2 separate regions of the Homo sapiens genome follow, and region 1 is linked to region 2. Evidence: promoter capture Hi-C in 16 types of primary human blood cells and fetal thymus (Javierre and others, 2016). All regions are on one chromosome and are shown on one strand. Each heading gives the region's core, a stretch centred on a gene start or on the middle of the fragment in contact. The rest is flanking DNA. Distances are from core to core; before and after follow the strand shown. Region 1 holds the start of AQP11 (aquaporin 11). Region 2 holds the start of MYO7A (myosin VIIA).

Region 1 (6,970 bases), core at 3,545-6,044, 460 kb after region 2:
AATGTGAAAGGAAAATATCTTATGCCCCCAAAAATCAATACGCTAAAGGGAAAAGTCAAGCTGGAAACTGCTTAGGGCAAATCTGCCTCCCATTCTATTCAAAGTCACCCCTCTGCTCACTGAGATAAAAACATATCTGACTGCCTCTTTTGAGGAGGCTAATCAGAAACTTAAAACAATGCAACCATTTTTTTCTTACGTACCTATGACCTGGAAGCCCCCTTCCTGCTTCAAGATGTCATGCCTTTCCAGACTGAACCAACGTTCTTCTTACATATATTGATTGATGTCTCATGACTTCCTAAAATGTATAAAACCAAATTGTGCTGTGACCACCTCAGGTAAATGTCATCAGGACCTTCTGAGGCTGTGTCATAGGCACGCATCCTCAACCTTGGCGAAATAAACTTTCTAAATTAACTGAGACATGTCTCAGATTTTTGGAGTACACATCTGATAAAACACAATGAGAAAAATATGGCATCACTTCTGTGATATTCCTGCTAAAGATGCATACCCTGTAAGGCTGCATTGAGCCGCGATCACGCCCCTGTACTCCAGCCTGGGCAACACAGTGAGACTCTGTCTCAAAAAAAGAAAAAAAAAAAGACACTTAACCTGAAACTAGTATCTAGGAAACATTAGGCAAACCCAAATTCAAGGAGATTTTACAAAATAACTGATCTGTAACCTCAAAATTGTCCAGGTGATGAAAGTCAAGGAAGAGCTGAGGAACTTTTCTAGATTGAAGGAAACTCATGAGACATGACACTAAATGCAATGTGCAATTCTGAATTGGATCCTTTTGCTAAGAAGTACAATGTTGCGACAACTGGCAAAACTTGAATGGGATCTGAGGAGTAGATGGTAGTAACAATGTTAATTTCCTGATTTTGATAGTCTTATTATGGCTATGTAGGACACAGATGTTTAAGAAAATACACCCTAAAATGTTCTGAGTAATTGGGCATAATATTAACAATTAATTTTCAAATGGTTCAGGAAAAAAAAATTTTGTACTATACTTGCAACTTTTCTGAAAGCCTGAGATTATTTCAAAATAAAATACTTTTAAAATGCAATTACTTAAATTCTTCCCATGTTTCTTCCCACGTAAACGTCAAGCCAAAGGACATGGCTTCAGAAGCTCTTTTTTTTTTTTTTTGAGATGGAGTCTCACCATGTTGCCCAGGCTGGAGTTTAGTGGTATAATCTTGGCTCGCTGCAACCTCCACCTCCCGGGTTCAAGCTATTCTCTTGCCTCAGCCTCCTGAGTAGCTGGGACTACAGGCATGTGCCAACACGCCTGGCTAATTTTTGTATTTTTAGTAGAGACAGGGTTTCACCATGTTGGCCAGGCTGGTCTCAAACTCCTGACCTCAGGTGATCCACCCACCTCGGCCTCCCAAAGTGCTGGGATTACAGGCGTGAGCCACCGCGCCTGGTGCAGAAGCTCTTAAATGCTTTATCTCCTCGCAGATGTTAACGAAATGCAATTCTGAATTTTGGCAGGGGTTTTTTTTTTTCTTCATTTCGCTTTGTCTTGTCTGAAGCTTCAGGGCAAAATCCATGATTATTGAACTATCGTCTATTTTACCTCCATTTTTATATATTAAACCTTATTAAGCACTACTATGTGCTGGGCCATGTACTAAATCTTTTTCAGGCATTATTTCTTTTAACCTTGATCTCTTGCTACTTCCCCCTTCATACTCCAGCCTAGAGCACGGGGACTCCTCTAGGCTTTCTCTGTTTGCAAAATGCAGTGCCTCTGCCTCTCTTCTTTCTCCCTCTTCTCTTTACCCCTTAACTCCTATTTATTCTTCAGGTTTCAGCTAGGATGACACTTCCTCCAAGGAGCCTTTCCTTAAGTCTGAGTGGGGGCCCCTCCCTGTGCCCAGGCCTTTCTTCTTTTACCATTGTACTTTTACACTATATTTTAATTTTGTTTTCTCTTCTGTTCCCTCTTCTATGCTATTCAAGAGCAAGGACTGTTTTTACTGCTGTTTTACCAAAGCTAACAGAGGTCTTCGTCCATGATGTCACTCTCAAGAGACTTTAATTGGTGATTTCTTGTTTCTGAAAATAGGAAGGTTGATTTGATGCAAAATATCCAATCAGTAGTAATTAATTATGTTAATTTTGCCCTTGTTCTTTAATTTAAAAAATGTCCAAAGTCCTTTTAATGACAATATGTATTACCACGATACTAAAATTTCTTACCAAAGTCCAAAACACTGGTTTTCTACATGACTCTTCCGGGTAAAAGTGAATTATCAGCAGAGCAGTAAATAAAATACATTCACATTAATCCTCAAGTGACTTCAAGTCTAGGGGAGCACTGAAAGGGTTACATTCATAGGATTGATTTAAAGGCAACTTCTTTAAACAGCAGTGACTTAAAAGTAATTCTAATTGCCGGGCGCGGTGGCTCACGCCTGTAATCCCAGCACTTTGGGAGGCCGAGGCGGGCAGATCACAAGGTCAGGAGATCAAGATCATCCTGGCTAACACAGTGAAACGCCATCTCTGCTAAAAAATACAAAAAAAAAAAAAAAAAAAAAAAAAAAAAAAAAAAAAAAGCCAGGTGTGGTGGCAGGCGCCTGTAGTCCCAGCTACTCGGGAGGCTGAGGCAGGAGAATGGCGTGAACCCGGGAGCAGAAGTTGCAGTGAGCTGAGATCACGCCATTACACTCCAGTCTGGGAGACAGAGCGAGACTCTGTCTTAAAAAAATAATAATAATAAATAATTCTAATTTAAATTCTTTCTGGCCAGGCAATCAACACAGGAAAGAGAAAAGGTCTTGATTTTCTACTAGTTTGTGTCTTGTGAAAGAATTTTTTTTTTTTTTAGACGAAGTCTCACTCTGTTGCTCAAACTGGAGTGCAGTGGCACTGTCTTGGCTCACTGCAACCTCCACCTCCCGGGTTCAAGGGATTCTCTTGCCTCAGCCTCCCGAGTAGCTGGGACTACATGTGCGCACCACCATGCCCAGCTAATTTTTGTATTTCTAGTAGAGACGGGGTTTCACTATGTTGGCCAGGCTGGTCTTGAACTCCTGACCTCGTTATCCGCCTGCCTCGGACTCCCAAAGTGCTGCACCTACAATGGGCCACCCCAGGGGACAAGCTGTTGGGACTGGAATGCGGTGGCAAGAGCCGTGCACTCTGGCTGCTGAAACCTGCTGTTTCCACTGTAAGCTACCACTTAGTGAATATTTTCTACGTATTGGGAACTGTACTAAGTGGCTTTCATGTTTTGTTTTTTGTTTGTTTGACTGGTTTGTTGTTGTTGTTGTTGTTGTTGTTGTTGTTTTTGAGACGGAGTTTCGCTCTTGTTGCCCAGGCTGGAGTACAATGGCGCGATCTAGGCTCACCACAACCTCTGCCTCCCGGGTTCAAGCGATTCTCCTGCATCATCCTCCCGAGTAGCTGGGATGACAGGCATGCGCCACCATGCCCGGCTAATTTTGTATTTTTAGTAGAGACGGGGGTTTCTCATGTTGGTCAGGCTAGTCTCGAACTCCCGACCTCCGGTGATCCGCCCGCCTCGGCCTCCCAAAGTGCTGGGATTATAGGCGTGAGCCACCGCGCCCAGCCGCGCCCGGTTTTTGTTGTTGTTTTTGTTTCTAAAAACAGCGTCTCGCTCTGTGGCCCAGGCAGGGGTGCAGTGGCGCGATCTCAGCTCACTGCAGCCTGGAACTCCTGGGGTCAAGCGGTCTTCCCACCTAAGCCTCTCCGTGCTGGGACTCCGGACGCGCTCCACCTCACGCAGCCGTATTCCTGCTTTCAAAGCAGATGGAAGAGGTGCGCCAGGACCCCCAGTTCTTGGAAACAGACCTCTCCAGTTACCTGTTGTTTCCTCTTCACGAAGAGTGCATGTAACAGTAAGACACAACTGTTTCATATTATACGTAAAGAGTTCATGCCAAAGGTTATAGACAGTCACATGCTAAAACTAGGCTACACTTTGAAGAATCACCGCTCAAGTTCTGGAAAAAAGAGGTGACTGTTGAACAACACTGTGAGGGTAATCGATGCCACTGAAATATACACTTAAATTGATTAAAGTGGCGAATTTTATCTGGCATATATTACCACCATTTTTAGAAATGTTTTTTGGCAGGTGAAGAAAAGCAAGGCTCCAGGAGGCCCTGCGCACCGGTCTACGCCCACTAACTCACCCGCCCCCTGCGCCGCGTCTCCCCTCTCAATTTCAGTCGCCCATTGATAAAAACGAGGTGGCTATGTGAGATGGCCTTCAGCGGTCTTTCCAGCTCCACGGTTTTACAGTGTGGAGCGGGGAAAGAAAAACTCTAAGGTCCTCGCTGCAAAGCAACCATCAGAGCTCCGCCGCGCCGTGCCGCTCCTCTCCGCCCCGTGGTCCGGGTGTCACCGCCCGCAGGGGCGCAAGGGCCGCAGCACGCGTGCGCAGTGGGCACCAAGAGCGCTGCGTCGACCGCGCCGCGCCGGCCCTCCGCCGCCGCGCCCGCCTACAAGGCCCTGAGGGAGACTGCGGAGGGTGAGTGCGCGGTGGGCTCGGCTGACCGTTGGCCCTGCGGCCGGCGCCCTAGGCTACCTCCCTTCGCCTCCCCGCGCCTCCCCGCGCCTCCCCGCCTCCCCGCCTCCCCGCCTCCTCGGCTCTGGTTCCAACACCCCAGCGCCAAGCCGGGGAGGCGGGGAGGACTTCTTAAGTGTGCCGCTCGGGAGCCTCCCGCTCGTCCCGCCCCGAGGGGCGTGAGGAGGGGAGGGGCTGCGGACTTCGGACTCGGGCCTGGAGACCGCCTCCTACCCAGAGCCGGAGCCCGCAACCCGCTCAGGCGGCGACGGAGCCATGTCGCCGCTGCTGGGGCTCCGGTCCGAGCTGCAGGACACCTGCACCTCGCTGGGACTGATGCTGTCGGTGGTGCTGCTCATGGGGCTGGCCCGCGTAGTCGCCCGGCAGCAGCTGCACAGGCCGGTGGCCCACGCCTTCGTCCTGGAGTTTCTAGCCACCTTCCAGCTCTGCTGCTGCACCCACGAGCTGCAACTGCTGAGCGAACAGCACCCCGCGCACCCCACCTGGACGCTGACGCTCGTCTACTTCTTCTCGCTTGTGCATGGCCTGACTCTGGTGGGCACGTCCAGCAACCCGTGCGGCGTGATGATGCAGATGATGCTGGGGGGCATGTCCCCCGAGACGGGTGCGGTGAGGCTATTGGCTCAGCTGGTTAGTGCCCTGTGCAGCAGGTACTGCACAAGCGCCTTGTGGAGCTTGGGTCTGACCCAGTATCACGTCAGCGAGAGGAGCTTCGCTTGCAAGAATCCCATCCGAGTCGACTTGCTCAAAGCGGTCATCACAGAGGCCGTCTGCTCCTTTCTCTTCCACAGCGCTCTGCTGCACTTCCAGGAAGTCCGAACCAAGCTTCGTATCCACCTGCTGGCTGCACTCATCACCTTTTTGGTCTATGCAGGTTTGTCATTCTCACCAAATACTTGGCACTTCCAGAGCCTCTATGACATGAGGCTGTAAGTTCTTTACTAAAATACATTTGAAACCGTCTATCCCGCTATGATGTAAATGCTGGTATCCCCGTTATTCTAACCATTTTGCAGCCCGTTCTTAACCAGTAGGGCCGACACGTAGAGCCTTCATGCAGTGCTGCTTTGAACACCCAGAGAAAGGAGCCACCTCTGTGCTGAAACTGAGATACTGTGAGATATTGCCAAGGGTTCAGATATCCTACAAAGGGATTGTTTTAATGGTAGAAAGGAAAGATAACTTATTAACTGCCTCTTTCTTCATGCCAAGGTGGTATAGATCGTTTCGGATACTCTTACTGAAAAATGATCCTGGCTTTACAAAGTTCCTTTCGATTTAAAGCACAAGGCACATGATTGGTTAGTATAAGAGCGGAGGGTAGAAATTTTGTAGTTCCATTTTAGTCCTATAAATGATTTAAAGTCATTTCTTATTTCCTTAATAATTCATTTTGAGTTATGAAATTTCTTATTTCCTTAATAATTCATTTTGAGTTATACATGAACTTTTAAGTGACCTATTAAGAAAAATGTTTAAATGATAACTTGCTTCAAATTAAAGATGCTTTTTAAAATATAACTCTTGAGAAATCTGTTGATTTCTTTTAAACCATTTGTTTACTTTGACAGATCTCAGATGCAGTGGGCAATCTAGTCCTAAGTGGGAGGAGGAAATCCAAAACACAAGTATTTAATGATGAAATGTGTCATTTTAAATGATTACAACAGAATATCTTTATTGGGACTACATCTAAATTATAAAAGACTGTGGAGGCAGAAATAACAACAAAGGAAATTTGTGGTAATAATCTTCTGCCCATTAAAAGTGAAACAATGACTAGAAGCAAACTTCAAGATAAGGACTCCTAAACACGTACTTGACCTTCTAGGGTAAAAATGAAAGCCTTCAGCCGGGCGCGGTGGCTCACGCCTGTAATCCCAGCACTTTGGGAGACCGAGGTGGGTGGATCACCTGAGGTCAGGAGTTTGAGACCAGCCTCGCCAACATGGTGAAACCCCGTCTCTACTAAAAATACAAAAAAAATTTAGCCAGGCATGGTGGTGGGCGCCTGTAATCTCAGCTACTCGGGAATCTGAGGCGGGAGAATTGCTGGAACCCGGGAGGCGGAGGTTGCAGTGAGCTGAGATCGCGCCATTTTACTCCAGCCCAGGCGACAACAGTGAGACTCTGTCTCAAAAAAAAGAAAGAAAGCAAGCCTTCCCAATCAATTTCCCCTTCTTTAGGTCTAGTACCACTTTTTAAGTAGACATAAATGGAAATAAGTGGTATAGAAGAGTGAAGGGGGCCGGGCACGGTGGCTCACACCTGTCATCCCAACACTTTGGGAGGCCAAGGCAGGTGGATCGCTTGAGCCCAGGCGTTCGAGACTAGCCTGGGCAACATAAGAGAAATCCCATCTCTCCAAAAAATACAAAAATTAGCCGGGCG
Region 2 (7,016 bases), core at 1,812-4,311:
TAATTCAAGAACAGGAATCCCTGTGTCCTTGCTGGGATTTCCTTTTGGGAACCTGACTTTCCGACTCCAGATCCTGCTGTCTGGATCAGTGTTCTGGCTGGAGGTGCTGGATTCTCTGATTTTGCCTCCTCACTCTGTGTCTGGCTTTGCTCCTGGGTCTTGGCCCTGGGCCATATGAGGGGCCAGGAAATGAACGACAAGGAGGATAAGAGTGTTCTTTCTTGAAAGCCGGGACTTCCCCTCAAGAACCTGGGCCTGGGGCCGGGACTCTGCATGACTGGGAGCAAGTCACTTAAACCTCCTGTGCCTCGATTTCCCCCTTCTACAAAGTGGGGCCAATGATTCTTGTGTGTCAGCACTGTTACTACCGAGTGCTGAGTAAGGGCAAAATAATACCCCTTTCTCTATGTATCTCTGTATGCACACGCACTATATATATATATATATATATATATACATTCATGTAATCACCACTTCTCGATGTCTATTTCAAATCAAGGCTCCTGAGTAGGGGGTGAAGTGAGCCAGCTTGCACCTCAGGCTAACACATAGGACTTTGCTCAGCCATGTCCCCTGGGATACAGGGGCACACCAGGACCAAGTGGCAGACCTGTGGGCTTCAGCCTCGGGGCCGGGGCATGCCTGCCACCCCCTGACAAAAACAGGTTCCACAGTGCTACCCTTGCTTCCTGCCCCTTGAGGTGGGCCAGGCTGGCTCCTGGCTATGCAGGGATCTCTGGTCCCCAGGAGACCTTGGGGGCCAGGCAGGTAAGGATCAGGGGTGATAGGGGAGAGCAATTACTTTGTTCACTGTATGCACCCGCGGGGGCCTGGGAGTCCCCATTTGCAGGTGGGTAGGGCCTCCAGCCCACACCACCCAGACCTAGGCTTCCCTCTTCTCAGGATCCACCACAGGGTTAGGGGACAGGAAGCCTGTTCTATTCTCAATAAATCTTACAAAATTCCAAAAAGACTTTCCTGTGTCCCTCTGTCCCCCTGGGGGGAAGGGACAATGGAGGAATATTCCCCAGGCCTGGGCGACTGTCCGCTGGTCAGAGGGAAGGCCCCGCTGCCTGCCCGGTGCACCTGTGAGCTGAGATTGTGGGGATCATTCAGTCATTCCTTTATTCAGTAGATCTGTACGGGGCTGGCTTTGTGCCAAGGCCTGCCCCGGGCACCTGGGATGTGGGGAACCAGGCATAGCAATCCCTGCTCTGGGACAGTCTACAAACGAGCAGCGAGAACAAAGACATACTCTGGTCATGACAGACACTACCCCGCACATTACTGATGGGGCAGTGTGGGCCTGCTGGGTTAGAGACGGCCTACTCCCTGATCTGTGCATGAAGGGCTGGGAAGAGGAGATGGGCCTTCGGGGCACAGGAAGGTGTGGGGGGACCAGAGCGGAGGCTGCTGAGGGCAGATGCAGGCATCTAGGGCCAGGAAGCTGGTGTGGTGGTGGGGAGAAGCAGGGTTGGGATGACTGAAAGCAGAGTGGACGACTCAATGAAAAACGACTTGGGAGACGGGGTGAGTGCAGTGTGAGGGCAAAGTGAACCGAGATGCCTCGCTTTCTTCATGGGACTGAGAAATGGGTATTGCAAATCGTGTGATCTGCTTAGCATAGTGCCTGGTTCATAGCATGGCTGAACACAATGTAGCTGTCATCCTGGTGTTTGGAGGCCGCCCTGTCCCCCATAACCTGCCCACCTCTCTGCCCCATTCCCACAGCTCACTGCATTTTGTCCCTGCTGCCAGTCGTGTGCCATGGGCTCTCCTGTGCTCCCCCGGGGTCTCATTTCCCCATCCGTGTAGGGCTGACGCCACTGGCCCCGCCCAGCCTGGGAGGATGGAGAGGGGGGACTTGAGGAGTGGCCAGTACTGGGTTTCGGCAGCAGGTGCAAATCCCAGGTGGGGACTGTGTTCCAGGGACTCCTGGACTCCTGTTAGGCCAGCAGGCTAAGGGGCAGACGGCATCCTGGGGTCTTCCTGGGACAGGGTCGTCGGGTCTGAGGGGACCCAGGCCCTAGCAGAAGCTGACTCCTGTCACGGTCACTTCCCAGCGGTGCTCAGCCCGCCTGACGGAAGCAGCTGGGCAGTGGGGCCTGTGACCAGCAGGCGGCGCTGGCGAGCTATAGCGCCCCTTTGGGCCCCCACCCCACCTTCTGGGCAGCTTCCCTGCAGACACCCCAGTTATGGGGGCTAGGGACCCAAAAGAGACATCCTTCTGCCACCCAGAGCTGCCCTGGCGAGGTGCACTATGGGGCCGCCGACAGCTGCGTGGCTGCCGAGGGCGGAAAGGAGAAACTGTCATGTCCCGATAGGGCCGCGCGAGGTCTCCATCCTCGACAACGCTAATAACAAAGACGTGTGCTCCTCTTTGCTTGGTTCCCCCCACTCCTTTAAATCACAGATTTCACTTCAGTTTATCTGTGTCGCTGTCACACGTGGGGTGGCTCCCAGTCAGCTGGTTTGGCAAAGTTTCTGGATGATTACGGAATAACATGTGTCCCCAACCCGCAGAGCAGGTTGTGGGGGCAATGTTGCATTGACCAGCGTCAGAGAACACACATCAGAGGCAAGGGTGGGTGTGCAGGAGGGAGAAGGCGCAGAAGGCAGGGCTTTAGCTCAGCACTCTCCCTCCTGCCATGCTCTGCCTGACCGTTCCCTCTCTGAGTCCCAAACAGCCAGGTAGAGGAGGAAGAAATGGGGCTGAGACCCCAGCACATCAGTGATTAAGTCAGGATCAGGTGCGGTTTCCTGCTCAGGTGCTGAGACAGCAGGCGGTGTCCTGCAAACAACAGGAGGCACCTGAAGCTAGCCTGGGGGGCCCACGCCCAGGTGCGGTGCATTCAGCAGCACAGCCAGAGACAGACCCCAATGACCCCGCCTCCCTGTCGGCAGCCAGTGCTCTGCACAGAGCCCTGAGCAGCCTCTGGACATTAGTCCCAGCCCCAGCACGGCCCGTCCCCCACGCTGATGTCACCGCACCCAGACCTTGGAGGCCCCCTCCGGCTCCGCCTCCTGGGAGAAGGCTCTGGAGTGAGGAGGGGAGGGCAGCAGTGCTGGCTGGACAGCTGCTCTGGGCAGGAGAGAGAGGGAGAGACAAGAGACACACACAGAGAGACGGCGAGGAAGGGAAAGACCCAGAGGGACGCCTAGAACGAGACTTGGAGCCAGACAGAGGAAGAGGGGACGTGTGTTTGCAGACTGGCTGGGCCCGTGACCCAGCTTCCTGAGTCCTCCGTGCAGGTGGCAGCTGTACCAGGCTGGCAGGTCACTGAGAGTGGGCAGCTGGGCCCCAGGTAAGGATGGGCTGCCCACTGTCCTGGGCATTGGGAGGGGTTTGGATGTGGAGGAGTCATGGACTTGAGCTACCTCTAGAGCCTCTGCCCCACAGCCACTTGCTCCTGGGACTGGGCTTCCTGCCACCCTTGAGGGCTCAGCCACCACAGCCACTGAATGAAACTGTCCCGAGCCTGGGAAGATGGATGTGTGTCCCCTGGAGGAGGGAAGAGCCAAGGAGCATGTTGTCCATCGAATCTTCTCTGAGCTGGGGCTGGGGTTAGTGGCATCCTGGGGCCAGGGGAATAGACATGCTGTGGTGGCAGAGAGAAGAGTCCGTTCTCTCTGTCTCCTTTGCTTTCTCTCTGACACTCTTTATCTCCGTTTTTGGATAAGTCACTTCCTTCCTCTATGCCCCAAATATCCCATCTGTGAAATGGGAGTATGAAGCCCCAACAGCCAGGGTTGTAGTGGGGAAGAGGTAAAATCAGGTATAGACATAGAAATACAAATACAGTCTATGCCCCCTGTTGTCAGTTGGAAAAGAAATTAACTTGAAGGTGGTCTAGTTCTCATTTTTAGAAATGAAATGTCTGTCTGGTCATTTTAAAATGTGGCCCTTAAATTTCACGCCCTCACCACTCTCCCCCATCCCTTGGAGCCCCATGTCTCTAGTGAAAGCACTGGCTCTGCCCCCAGCCCTCATGGCTCATGCTGGCATAGGGCGCCTGCTCCACAGCCTGGGCACCATCTTCAGACAAGTGCCCGGTGGCAACTGCCTGCTGGCCCTGTTGAATCCACATCTCCACCAGGCATCCAGACTAGTTCAGGTCTCTGGAAGGACTGTGGGTTTGCTGTGTCCCAGAGCTCCAGGGCAGGGGTCAGGGCTCGGATGTCGGGCAGTGTCATGGGCAGAGGATCGAATGCCCCGGCGGCTCTGAATGGGCCCTTGTGAAAAATTGATGCGCATTCTAGGAGACAGGTTGGGAGCCAGAGGGGCCTCATACCAGGGTCTGTAGGCTGGGGCTGCCTTTTAAGCTCCTTCCTGAGGCCGTCTCTGGGTCTGGCCCTGTGCTGGACAAGGCTGGAGACAAGGCAATGTCTCAGACCCTCTCCCATTGGCCACATCCTGCCCTGGATCAACTCGCCAACTTTGGGGGCAGAGGTGGGACTGACCCTTACCCTGACAACATAATGCATATAGTCAAAATGGGATAAAGGGGAATATAGAGGCTCTTGGCAGCTTGGGAGTGGTCAGGGAAGGCTTCCTGGAGGAGGTATCATCTGAACTGAGCCATGAACCATAAGTGGAAATTCACTAGTCAAAATTTCAGGTAGAAGGGCCAGTGTGTGAAGGCCAGGAGATGGCAAGAGCTGGCGTATTTCAGGAACAGTGAGTCACTGAGGATGTCCAAGTATAAGGGTAGGAAAGGGAGTGAGCAGTGAGAGAAAAGACCGAGGCATCAGCAGGGGCCAGATTGTGCTGGGCCTAGCGGGGCGGGCCCGGGCCCGGGCCCAGGCCCAGGTGCGGTGCATTCAGCAGCACAGCCAGAGACAGACCCCAATGACCCTGCCTCCCCGTCAGCAGCCAGTGCTCTGCACAGAGCCATCCTGAGGGCAGTGGGTGCTCTTGAGAGGTTTCAGGCAGGGTGTGCTGTGAGCAGGTCATGCCCAGCCCTTGACCTTCTGCTCAGTCAGGCTTGTCCTTGTCACCCACATTCCTGGGGCAGTCCCTAAGCTGAGTGCCGGAGATTAAGTCCTAGTCCTAAATTTGCTCTGGCTAGCTGTGTGACCCTGGGCAAGTCTTGGTCCCTCTCTGGGCCCCTTTGCCGTAGGTCCCTGGTGGGGCCAGACTTGCTACTTTCTAGGAGCCCTTTGGGAATCTCTGAATGACAGTGGCTGAGAGAAGAATTCAGCTGCTCTGGGCAGTGGTGCTGGTGACAGTGGCTGAGGCTCAGGTCACACAGGCTGGGCAGTGGTCAGAGGGAGAGAAGCCAAGGAGGGTTCCCTTGAGGGAGGAGGAGCTGGGGCTTTGGGAGGAGCCCAGGTGACCCCAGCCAGGCTCAAGGCTTCCAGGGCTGGCCTGCCCAGAAGCATGACATGGTCTCTCTCCCTGCAGAACTGTGCCTGGCCCAGTGGGCAGCAGGAGCTCCTGACTTGGGACCATGGTGATTCTTCAGCAGGTCAGTGTTCCCACCTCTTTGGGTGGCCTGTCCTCCCCAGGCCATATCCCCTCATCCATATGCTTACCCGTGGGACACCCTCCCCAGGGTGTTCTCTTGGAAAATTCCTGCCTAGGCTTCCAAACCCAGCCCTCCAGGCTGAGGCCTAGTCTGAAACCTGTTCCCTCTGCTGTGCCAGCTGGGGTTTCCTTCTCTCACTGGCTCACCCCACTGGGCAGAAATGAGTTTATTTACACACATCTCTGGATCCCAGGCAGTGGAACAGCATGTGCAAAGGCCCAGGTGTGGGAAGGTCCCTGGGGAAGAGGAGAGGAGGTTGGCAAGGCTCCCAAAGCCAGGCCAGGAAGGGCCCTGAGCCCAACTTATTCTTAGGGCCTTGGGGAGCAGTGACTGGAGGGCGGGGGGTGACAAGGCTTGAGCTGGAGCCCCCTGGGATTTTATGGGAAGAAGCAGAGGTGCTGGCCCGAGCTGAGTCCTCCAGCCCCCCTTCCTACTGAGGGCCACAGTGGCCTCTGACCCTCAGCCCTTCCCCGTGATCAGTCTGAGGCTCTAATGAGCTCCTGGCCTCCAGAGCAGGAGCCAGGAATGTGGGCCCTGAGCCAGGTGGGCCTGGCAGCAGGCCGTAGGGCTTGTGGGGCTGTGCATTATGGGGGCTTGGCCAGCAGCTTCTCGGTCTCCAGGGTCACCAGAGGCCAATGGCTCAGCCTTGCCTGGCCACCCTGAGGCTGCACGGACCAGCATGTTTGCATATGAGTGCGTGCGCGTGTGTGTGTCTGTGTGTGTGAGTGAGAGGCAGGCTTCAGGGCAGCATCAGGACAGACATTCTTCTATCCCAGGGGCTGGAGGAGACCCCCTTTAGAGCCCCTTGGCCTGAGAGCCTGTTCAAACGCCCATTAGAGATGGGCAGGATCTAGGAGAGGAAAAGTCCATTCGCTGAGTGTTTGCTGTGTGCCAGGGCCTGGGCCCCCATAGCCCTCCAGGGGCGTCCTCCCTCAGGGGGCCTCTGAGGCAGGCCTCTGGCTGATGGGACCTCCTCACCACCCCCTCCTCTCCTGCCCCTCTGAACGCTGACCCACCTCCAGCTGTGGGTGGCCTCTGTTGGGAGCAAGTGTCTTGTAGGTGAATGCCTGTTCTGCCTGCCCTCAAGCAGGAAGTACACTCAGCTCCTTCCTTGGTCCTGAAGAAAGCCCCAGCCCTGGGGAACCGGCCAGCTCTGCAGTTGCACAGGCCGGGCCTAATGGGCTCCAGCCCAGGCTTTGCTATTGATGAGTGGGAGGGCCTTGGGCACGTTACTCAGCCTTCCTGAGCCTCAGTTTCCTCATATGTAAAATGAAGATTAAAAGCCTCTTTTCCCACAGCTGCCGATGAGAGGCTAAAATGCCATGTGGAGCTCCATGAAAATGCTTCTTCCTTCCTCTGCTTCCCTGGTCTGCCCTCTCCTCCTCTCTTCCTGCCACATCCTTCCCGGTCCTGAAAGGTCCACGGAGTGCTTGGCTTCCCCTCTTGCCTGGCTGACTTCTGCTCAGGCTTCAGTGTAGCCTCTACTTC

What was found. Contacts are between HindIII fragments. The CHiCAGO score rates a contact against its expected background, and 5 or more counts as called.
Region 1: the fragment with the promoter of AQP11 here is called in contact with the fragment with the promoter of MYO7A in region 2 in 3 of 17 cell types (erythroblasts, endothelial precursors and neutrophils); the score reaches 5.3 in erythroblasts.

The regions. Positions count from the first base shown.
Region 1 is chr11:77,585,159-77,592,128 of GRCh38, forward strand. AQP11 (aquaporin 11) reads left to right here and starts at 4,795. Exons shown (of 3, transcript NM_173039.3): 1 at 4,795-5,453. The coding sequence starts at 4,835. RefSeq lists a silencer at 4,142-4,771. The HindIII fragment of the contact is 3,851 bases long and covers 1,552-5,402 here.
Region 2 is chr11:77,125,185-77,132,200 of GRCh38, forward strand. MYO7A (myosin VIIA) reads left to right here and starts at 3,062. Exons shown (of 49, transcript NM_000260.4): 1 at 3,062-3,305; 2 at 5,405-5,468. The coding sequence starts at 5,451. CAPN5 (calpain 5) reads left to right here. Exons shown (of 13, transcript NM_004055.5): 13 at 1-971. RefSeq lists enhancers at 1,748-2,470, 2,471-3,194, 3,917-4,640, 6,086-6,807. The HindIII fragment of the contact is 18,517 bases long and covers 1-7,016 here.